Regions from separate parts of the Homo sapiens genome. Here region 2 is linked to region 1. Evidence: promoter capture Hi-C in 16 types of primary human blood cells and fetal thymus (Javierre and others, 2016). All regions are on one chromosome and are shown on one strand. Each heading gives the region's core, a stretch centred on a gene start or on the middle of the fragment in contact. The rest is flanking DNA. Distances are from core to core; before and after follow the strand shown.

The links. Contacts are between HindIII fragments. The CHiCAGO score rates a contact against its expected background, and 5 or more counts as called.
Region 2: a fragment that was not itself captured here is called in contact with the fragment with the promoter of MRPS9-AS1 in region 1 in 1 of 17 cell types (naive CD8 T cells); the score reaches 5.6 in naive CD8 T cells.

The regions. Positions count from the first base shown.
Region 1 is chr2:105,100,802-105,106,189 of GRCh38, reverse strand. It overlaps MRPS9-AS1 (MRPS9 antisense RNA 1), which reads left to right and starts at 3,246. Exons shown (of 4, transcript NR_110227.1): 1 at 3,246-3,354. It overlaps LOC105373527 (a long non-coding RNA gene), which reads right to left and starts at 4,433. Exons shown (of 3, transcript XR_923138.3): 1 at 1,427-4,433; 2 at 983-1,149; 3 at 711-891. RefSeq lists enhancers at 968-1,828, 1,829-2,690. The HindIII fragment of the contact is 13,539 bases long and covers 1-5,184 here.
Region 2 is chr2:106,535,723-106,541,110 of GRCh38, reverse strand. It overlaps a transcript of CD8B2 not described here. Among named protein-coding and RNA genes, the nearest start is that of CD8B2, 51 kb to the right of the region's middle. The HindIII fragment of the contact is 1,663 bases long and covers 1,299-2,961 here.

The DNA of each region.
Region 1 (5,388 bases), core at 1,997-4,496:
AAGTTTTAGGGTAATGTGCACAACGTGCAGGTTTGTTACATATTCTAATATAATTCTTAATTCTATTGTTTTCTTGGCTATGACATTAATCTTATTATTTAGTTTAAAAGGCTAATGGCCTGTATTGAAGGAAAAGTAATGCAGTAACATGACTTGAATTATTTTTAAAATATATTTTAATATTTCATACCTCAGTATTAATCTGTATTTTCTGTGAAATGACAGAAAAATTCATTGTAAGATTTTGCTTTTGTATTCATTTTGATTTTGAGTTGAGTTTCAGTAATTTTTATAGCTTAGTGTTCAAAGATTACTTTCAATTTTTAGTAATGGGTTTATTGCATTTAAAGTGTTTTAACCGAAGACTTAGAATAAGAAGAAAGCCTTAAGCTACACTTCTGTAGCCTACAAAGTTATTGAGCAAAGGTGGCAATAATTGTTTGCCTGATTATTATTATTACTCCTTGCCTCTTAATTTTGGAGGATGCATTATAGCCTTTCTATTAAACTTCAATATTTATAAAAACAATATACTGATCCTTTCTTATAAATATTTATAAGTTCTTAGCAGGAGCTACCTAATATGGTTCTGATGGTTCTGTGAGAGGCTGAACACACTCAATGTCTGTGGGGTTTCCTGAATGGAGACTAGCTGAGGTATTTTAACTGGCATAAAAACATCTGGTCTACAACATCAAATCACTCCAACATTGATATCATCATGTTTTAATTTTTTCTGAGTAGTCAGGTCAATGAACTTAGTGCTAAAAAAAGGAGGGAAAATGTACCAGATGACTTTGCCATTCATTTTCAAGGAAACCAGTTATTTATTCCATCACTCTATGGCTTCCTCTTCCACACTCTTGGGTCTCTGTGCACCCTTGTTGAACCCTATGACAGAAGTTAAGAAGGGATTTTCTGAGGGGGGAAGAGAATCATAACCAATGTTTATAGAGCTCTTCCTATAGACTAAGTGGCTCACGTGGATTGTTGCAAATCCTCGAAATCCTTGGACAGGTGTTGCTATTCTCTCTCCTTCACAAATGAGCAGTAGAGGTTTAAGGTGATCAACTCGTCCAAAGTCACACAGGAACTCCAGAGCCCGTGTTCTGGACCATGTACATACTTCTTCAGGTGGTTTTTCATCTACTTTTACGATACAGTAGTGCATAATAAGCATGTGAGTCGTATTTGGAAGGTATAATAAAGTGGACACTAAGGCAACCACCTCCCAGCTTCAGATAAACATCACCACCAATACCTCTGCAGTCTTGGGGGCCCGCCTTCCCCTCCCACCTGGTACAGGCCTTATCTCCGGAGCCTCCTACCAACACCTGCTGCACTTCCCCCACTGGATTCTGTGCTGCACACAAAGGCTAGGCTCATTTTCCTTAAAAAAACAAAAAACAAAAACCAAACTCCTTACGCCATGGGGATGGCCCCCTTAGGGCATGTTCTGAACAAGGGACCTATGCCCAGAAACAACGCACACATCTGTGACACTCTGCAAATGATTTCAATGTTTGGCAGACTTCCTCAAACTCATGATTTGTCATTCAAACTGGGACACTTGAGAGTAAAAGGGGGAACTATCTAGTAGTCACACTGGGATGGCGGGATGGTGGGGCCACACTGGGCAAACAGGTGGCACAGTCACCTTGACTTCATCCCTGGGCTCTCATAGCTCTTCCCATCACATTGCCCGGAATGCTTTCCTCCAATCGTATGGCCCACTGACTGTCCTCATAATGATCCCAGCTTGATGGAGTGGTTATGACATCGCCTTCCTGAATAAGATGAGGGTTCTAGCTTGGTTGGAGAGCATAGTATAGTGCTTACTAATCAACACCCATCCATTAGGATCTGGCTGACATCCACCTCTCCCATCAAGTCTTCTGACTGTACCAATGCAGTCTTCTCTCCTTTCACAGACGGTTTTAGCACAGGCTGTGTGCCTGGCTTGCATGCCGTCATAGCCCGCCTGGTATTCTTCCACAGTGGTTCAGAGCACTGGCTCTGGAGCCGGGATTCTAGGTTCCAACCTGGCTTGGGCACTCACTAGCTCTAGGACTTTGGGCAAGTTATTGAACCTCTCTGAGCACTAATTTTCTCAATATCTACCTCATAGGGTTGGCTGAGAGGATCGAATGCGTTACTTGTATTTAGAACAGTATCTGGAACAGAATAGGAGCTACAGAAGCATTAGCTCTCACTGTCGCCTTAAGGCAATAATCTTGTCAAATGCCTATTAAAAAAAAATAGCCACTAGAGAGCTCTTCCCAATGTATGCACACAGTGTGTGTCAAAAATACTTCCCAACAGGTATTTCCCACAAAGGTGTGGGATGTCTGAGAAGCTCAGTGCTCCTGTGGTTAACAAACCTGGTGACAAAGGAGACTGTGTCAAGCCTGAACAAAGGAACAAGAGCTCCGATATACTTTAATCCTCTTCCCTGGAGGCCTCACATCAACACTGTCCACAGTCTAGTTCCTATTACAGCTGGAATGGAGCAGATGGCCGGTGGTTTTACACTTATCTTACTTGATCGTCACACAAGGGCAGATGGGGCTGGTAGGGCAGAAAATGACCCCAATTTGACTCAAAGAAATTGAGACTCAAGGGGTACAGTGGCCTGCGAGGTTACAAGCCAGTATTTCTTCCAGACCTCACGGGGAAAGGCACCTGTAACATTCGCCTCTCCTGGAGGCCGCTTCTTGGTCATCACTGACGTCCCTGACCGCTGTGCCTGGCTTGCTGTCTTCCTATCACCGCTCACCACCCCCTTTGCTGGCTCTTCCCTCCTTCCTACTTTAAACTTGATGGCTGTTTCTCCACTTGAGCCTTGGCCTTCTCCCTGCCCAATCCTCCGTGCTGATCCAGCCCACGTTTCAAATTCCCCTTCCACGCAGCAGCCTCCCAAATCTGTCAGCAGGCTGACCCGTCGCCTGAGTCACAGTCCAATTATTTCAAGCATCTCATATGAGGTGGCCCCGAACACCTGAAACCCGAGCCGACCCCTCTGGTGTCTCCTCCTCCTCCCATCAACTTTTCTTCCTGTCTTCCTGGCTCTTTGCATTCCCAGCAGCCTGTGGATCTCATACCGAATACCCGCCCCCAGCTCTCCTGCAGCCAATCAGCTATCGCACTTGGTCCAGGTGAGAGTGGCAACGTTTCTCACACCTACTTCCTTTCTGTTCCCTGCACTGGGTCCCATCCCCTCCATGTACAATAGCTGCCTGGCAGGTCTCTTCCTTCTAGCAACTCCCTGCTCCTGCAGTCCCTCCGTGACCTTCCTGATGGGGAGATCCTCAAGACTTTTCCCATGAGCTCGGGGTTCCTGAGGCCCAGAAGAAGGTGAGAGTTAAGGCTCCGATTTTGTTGTTATATTATGCACTATGACTCTACTTAATATATATATACATATATTTTAAAGGTTGCTAAAATATAGTTTAAAAACACAGTTCTAATTTCAACCCTCATCTGTTCTCTCAAAGGAGAAAAAAAGGCTGATTCCCCTTTGGCAGTGCAGGAACATCACCATGAATTTCAGACCCTCCACAAATCCACCTCAGCCTCCTTCCCAGCTGGTTTCCGCAGGGACCTCGTCCCTCCCCAGCAATGCCCTGGCCCGCCTGGCTTCACTCCCTGCACATTTCCTGAACTTTCCTTCCTCCTTTCTCGCCATTTTCTCCATCTGTACTCCCACCCTCTCCTTTCATGGCCTCTTTTTTCCCCACCACCTCCTCCTCAGAGTGCTACTGTCCTCAGGGCCCCCTTCCTCAGCTCTCCTCCTGGCACTGTACGAGCAGCACTCCAGGTCTCCCGTTAGACTTGAGGACTTTGTCTCCTCCACGATACCAACAGTAGCTGATGCAGGGCCAGATGGCATATACTTCAGGCAGCTCTGCACTGCCCCAGGACACCAGGTATGGCAAGAGCTCAGCAAGCGGGCGATCCGTGCCGGCAGGGCTGCCCGCCATCCCATCTCAGCACACCCACGCCACGTGGGGTAACCACTTGTCACTTCTCTCTTGTCAAAATGGTAAAAAGTATACTCCAACAGATACAGGCTAAATCAACACCACCGACCAAAACCTGCCACAGACAATTTCACTAGAGAATGACCGCCACACAGAAAAAACCCCAGAAAGTATTTTCTACAGTTTCATCTGAAATGAAAAGGGCACTGGGTACCGCAGGGTACTGGGTACTCACTCTCACTTGTTCATCACCATGTTATTTTATTTTACCTCATAAAGGATTTGATGTGTATATACATGTCTCAGAACTTATTCAAGATTATTTTAAAAAGACACTTATGAAGAAATCAGTGGCATACAACTCTTTATATAAAGGATAATTGAGCATTGAGGGTCTAATTCTTGAAGCAATATTTTTACTTAAAATAACTGCATTGAAATGGATTTTTTTTTTTTTTTTTTGAGACAGGATCTGACTGTTACCCAGGCTGGAGTGCAGTGGCACAATCTCGACTTACTGCAGCCTCTGCCTCCTGGGTTCCAGCGATTCTCCCACCTCAGCCTCCCGAGTAGCTGGCACTATTGGCGCATGCCACCACACCCGGCTAATTTTTGTATTTTTTGGTAGAGATGGGGTTTCACCATGTTGGCCAGGCTGGTCTCAAACTCCTGGCCTCAAGTGATCCACCTGCCTCAGCCTCCCAAAGTGCTGGGATTACAGGCGTGAGCCACCACACCTGGCTTAAAATGGGTTTTAAAGTACCCCTGTTACCAACTGCCCCTTTCCTCCCTCAAAAACCTACTGCACAATTGCATTAGAGTTAAAATGCCAAAGTTTCTTCATTTTAAGGTACTTTAGAAATCCTAGAGCAAAACTCAATTGAACGCTTAGCTATGACTGAAGAGTCTCACTCCTGGCCAAACACCTATGTGTGATCTTTCATGCCAAACCATGGTCAATCATAAAGACTGCCTGGTGGGCCTCACGGGGGCAAGCTACACTCCCCACACCTGACTTGTGCACAGCCAGTGCATGACAGGTCCTGGGGGCCACAGTCAAGGACTCAGCCCACCTCCCCGCAGCCCGTGCTCTTCCAGAGCTATGTGCACTCCTGGCTGGGTGCCTTCATTCAGAGGGATCTGTTCCTTTCATGCAAGTCCTCCCTCAGGCTCCTCAGCTGAGACTTCCTGGGGAAGGGAAGCTTGAAGCCACTTTTCTCCATATCTGTGCTGATCCAAAATGGAATCCACAATTGTTTCAATAAAGAAACTGTGGCATATATAAACACAATGGAATATTATTCAACCTTGAAAAAGGAGATCCTGCCATTTGCCACAACGTGGATGAACCTAGAGGATACTATGAAGTAAGCCAGGAACAGAAAGATAAGTAGTGCAAGATCTCACT
Region 2 (5,388 bases), core at 881-3,380, 1.4 Mb before region 1:
CTTCCTCTGCCCCAGCCCACCAAGCCTGCCCACCACAGGGCCCTTGCACATCCAGCTCTCTGCAAAACTCTTCATTCCCTCTCCTCCTGCTGGGCTCCTGTGGACCATTGAGTCTCTTAAAGGTCATTTTCCCCAAAAGGCTGTCTCCACTCCCCCAGCCGAATGAAGCTCCCCTGATATGCCTTCAAGACACCCGCTAGTTGTCACTTTGAATACTTACTGCAAAAGGTAGTTATAAGAGTATTTGGGGCCGGGCACAGTGGCTTGCGCCTGTAATCCCAGCACTTTGGGAGGCCGAGGCAGGTGGTTCACAAGGTCAGGAGTTCGATACCAGCCTGGCCAAGATGGTGAAACCCCATCTCTACAAAAAATAGAAAAATTAGCCTGGCGTGGTGGTAGGCGCCTGTAATCCCAACTACTCAGGAGGCTGAGGCAGGAGAATCACTGGAACCCAGGAGGCAGAGGTTGCAGTGAGCTGAGATTGCGTCACTGCACTCTAGCCTGGGTGACAGAACAAGACTCCATCTCAAAAAAAAAAAAGGAGTATTTGGATGATTATTTGCTTGATTTACTTTTTCCCCCTCAAGACTGTGAAAGTCCTGAAAGCAGGGGGTTTGCCTGCTTGGCTCACCCAGAACAACAAGCCGACTTGCTAAATGAGGGAGTGGTACTGCCAGTTGACTTCATTCTTGGTCCTATTTTTATCTGTTTTGAGATTGACATTAATGCGCCTTTGGTGGGCTGGTCTCCTAGGGCTAATTGTCATTTCTTTGCAGTAAGAAATGTTGAAAAGCTTTTTAAATAAAATAATGAAAATACGAATTTCTCACAAAGGCTGAGTTTCTAATAACATAATTATTCCAACACTCATCTTGAGACCACATAATTAAGAAACAGTAATACTTGGATATTTTTTTTAATTTGAGAGGTCTACATAAACGATTCTCTGCATGATTCTTTCTTTGATCATTGAAGCTGTCATTTTCTTTTTTCATTCTTAGGAAATCATTCCACATAACAAAATTGAATTTCTTTCAAGCCATAAAATTATTGGAATATAACATCCACCCTAACTTCATCTACATAACATGAAGTATATAATTTCCACTCAAAATTAATTCTCAATGTAAACAAGAATAACAATAAACCAAAATTCACTTATGTTTACTATGAAATAGATTTAACGATCAGGAAGTCCCATGACAAAAAAGGGAGATTCAGTGACGGGAACAGTGATTAAGTTAGCCAAGATGCTCAGCAGTAGGAGAATACACTTTTTTTTCCCACTTGGCAAAGCTTAAATAATTTTTTAAGTGTCAGATTCTGTTCTTATTTTATCAGCCAAAGGAGGCTTGGTTTCCAAGCCGTGTATCCGTCAAGAAATTGGAATTCAAGCAAACACATATTTTGAAGTTTGATGCATTGAAGCCAAACACTGTAGAGACAATGATAAATATGATATGGTCCATCTTAAAAATGTTTTTGGTGTTTGTGTGAAACATCCTGTAAGCTGGAATTAAGCAGCAAAGAGCAATGATGCCCAGAAGCTGCAGCCCCGTGTGGCCCCCTAATTCCACAGTAAGACCCCTTATTTGTCTTCAGAATAAAAGATGAGCACACCGCACACATGGTATTGTGTCCCAAGTACATCAACTTTCCATGTTTTGGCGTGGAAACAAGAAACATCTTTACTTCAATTCCATAAAGTAGTTCTCTAAATTTTAGAAATATAAATATGTTTGCCTTTTGGGACCAATATATATATTTCCCCTTGAACTCACTTATTCATCCATTTATTTCACAAATTTATAAGGAGCTTGCCCTGTGCTAGGTGCTGTGATACCTGCTGGAGACACAGTGGTGAAGAGACACAGGAGGTCTCAGCACACAGGTGAGACCCACACATGGGCCCCGAGTGCTGTGGGGGCACCAGGCACTCTGCTAAGTGCTTCATGTGCCTCACTCATCAACACAGCAACTCCATGGGGCAGGCACTGCCCTGGCCCTGAAATGAGTGAGGCCAAGGTGTGTAAGTGAACACGTGTTCACTTGCGCTGTGACCAGGTAGAGTCAGAAGTTCAGCCAGCACACACCAGCTGCAAGAACCCGGCTCTGAAGTCCTCATGTGTCACTAGTTCATGAGCTACTGATCACACACATGCAGTCACACAGATAAACAGTCACACCGTGCACAAGCTCTGGGAGGGGGACACACTGCATATGAGACTGTTTCAGATGGCAGTGCCCGGCCTGATGAGGAAGGGCAAGGAAGGCCCCCAGGGGAAGCCTTGAGGCAGTGTGGAAGGGTGGGTGGGTGGAGAGCATAATATGAAGAGGGAGGGGTCCAAGCTCAGCACAGATGCCAAGAGCCAGACCTTTGAAAATATGTGGCCAAGACCCAGGAGTGCCTGGACACACGGAAGCCAGCTATTACCAGAGATAGTGACATGCAGGTGAACATCTGGGGAGTAGGAGGTGGGGAAGGGTGTTACAGACAGGAATTCCTACTCAGGACACTGCTCGGCTCTAGATAGCGCAAAGGTGAATTTTCCAAGGTAAATGCACTTTGTGAGATCTCAAGTGCCACACAGATTCACAGTCACCCTTATTACAACATGGGGAAATTTTAATCACTGCTAATAGTAGATGCTCAAGTCCTAAGATCTTATGAAACAAGCCAAGAAAGCTACTTCTGATCAATTTTAAGAACAAGTAAAGAGAAAAGCAGGCCATTTGTGTACCGTTTCAAGCAAAAAGCAACAAGATGAATATTCTTCATGTATACATAGCCTACATAGGCTGAAGGCTCCATCTCAAAATTCCCCTTCACAGCCTAAACCTTCCTCAGCCCCTGAGTTGACCACCCTGCCTATACCGTATTTTCCCGTTTCTCAAATCACTGGCAAGTGTTATTTGGGAATTGAGTCATATTGGCTAGTTTTGTGCCACCATGAGGAAGCTTGCAAGGTCTTTGGTAGTCAAGCTGATGACTTACGCTTCCCTAGACCAGCAGCTTTGTCTGGGCACACCCAGATGCGTGCAAACACTTTGAGCACTGAAGGTCCGCAGGCCTCCGCAATCACTGAGCATTTGAGACTCCTCTGGGGCCATGCATCCACCAGCTCTCAGCGCAGGTCAGAAAAGGAGCCTCACAGAGACTTCTCATTTATTTTACATTCATTACCCTGCTAATTTCCAAAGCGAGGTGCCTGAAGCTAGCTTAGCAACAAGCAGGCGTGACGGCTGTCCCACGGCTGATTCTGAATGTGCTTTGTCAGTGTGTTTGTTTTTCCTTCGTGCTAACTTTATCTTCAGAACCTATTAAGTTTAATCCCAGCAGTACTAATTAGAGGTGGCAACAACAGAAATCCTCTGCAAGGGCTTTTAGAAATCGACCGCCACTTCAGTAAGAACAGCCATGCTCTTCTTTTCATTCCTTGTCGCTTCCTCGGGCATTCCACAAGGAGCTACAATCTGGTGTTTAGAGAGCTGAAGGGCACTTATAGAACCAAGCTCTACACCAAGTAAAAAGAGATTTTAAGCATATGTGGATTCAAATGAGAAATCTGTGCAAGTGTGCCACACACCTCTCTTAACCTCATTTGGGGATTTCTGTGCATACTGTACTTAAAATTAAGTAAGATAAGCTGTTTTTAAGATGTCGTGTCTTGGTGGCGTTGAACCATAATTTTCTGCCTCCTCAGTGGAAGTTCAAGCTTGTGGTCATACAAGGAAATGTAAACTCTGAAACTGAAGAGCTTCACTAGGACTACTAGGGAAGTGCAAGTTTAGGGAAATGAAAGTTGTCTCCAGGGTATGACATCATCTGATGACCTTGTGATGAGCCCATGGTTTATTAAATGTGTTTAAAACACACATAGGGAAGTGAGGGGTGAGAGACGGGGCAGGTTAATAGCAGGGCAGCATTTGGGGGGAAGCCCAGAGCATGAGGCCTGGTTAGCACCATATTCACATGTCCTGTCTTCCTCTCCCACATCGGTTTTCCCTGCTGATGGGGTGGTGACGAAGACCAGATTTGGAGTTGGATCAGGGCCTCACAGACAAAGGGCACCTAGAGCCAACAGCACAGATGTGTCCTATTGGAGAAACACAGCAACTTGTTCTTCTGAGAGACGTACTGCACTGGCTATAGCTGCAGGTCGCCAGTTAGCCTGCTGGACAGCCACAGTTTGATTGGCATGCTCTGGGCTGATGCAGGGGTAACAGAGCTGTCAGTCCAGTGAGGGCATGATCAGTAACACTATTTGCGCCATCATATATTCCATGTAAGACTTCTGTCTTCAACACATCACACCCATAATTAACTCACCATTGAACACATTGATGAATCTGCCCTTACTTCACAAGCCACTTCTCACTCATTTCCTTACCGTAACACACCCTTTGAGATGCACCTGCACCTCATGAGCTGGCAGCTCGCCTACCCTCTGTGCTTAATATGCTTCTCAGTTTCACCCTTTTCATCTATTCATTGTTCTCTACAGCAAAGCTGAATATACTTGATACAGCAAAGTCATGTCACAGTAAGAATCTAAAGTCCATTAGGAGTAAGTTTTGGGAAACCTCTCCCACCAACCTATATCTAAGCTGAAATGGTTTGGGTCTGTGTCCCTGCCCAAATGTCATGTCAAATTTAATCCCCAAAGTTGGAGGCAGGGCCTGGTGGGAGGTGATTGGATTTTGAGGGTGGATTTCTCCCTTTGCTGCTGTTCTTGTAGCAGAGTTCTCAGGAGATCTAGTTGTTTAAAAGTGTGTGGTGGCCAGGCGCAGTGGTTCATGGCTGTAATCCCAGCACTTTGGGAGGCCAAGGCAGGCGGATCACCTGAAGTCAGGAGTTCGAGACCAGCCTGACCAACATGGAGAAACCCTGTCTACTAAAAATACAAAATTAGCCAGGCACAGTGGCACTTGCCTGTAATCCCAGCTACTCAGGAGGCTGAGGCAGGAGAATCGCTTGAACCCTGGAGGCAGAGGTTGTGATGAGCTGAGATTGCACCCTTGCACTCCAGCCTGGGCAGCAAGAGCAAAACTCTGTCTCAAAAAAAAAAAAAAAAAAAAAGTGTGTGTGGCACCTGCCTCTTCTCTCTCTTGCTACTCTGGCCATGTAAGACATACCTGCCTCCCCTGCGTGCCTTCCACCATTATTGAAAACTTCCTCAGGTCTCCCCAGGAGCAGAGCAGAAGCCTCTATGCTTCCTGCACAGCCTGCAGAACTGTCAGCCCATTAACCCTCTTTTTTCTTTTTAATAAGTTGCCCAGCCTCAGGTATTTATAGCAGTGCAAGAATGGACTAATATATAAACCATTAGCTGGAATCTGGTGAATAAAATCTCTTACAAGCTTTAGAATGTTAGAGCTGGGATTTAC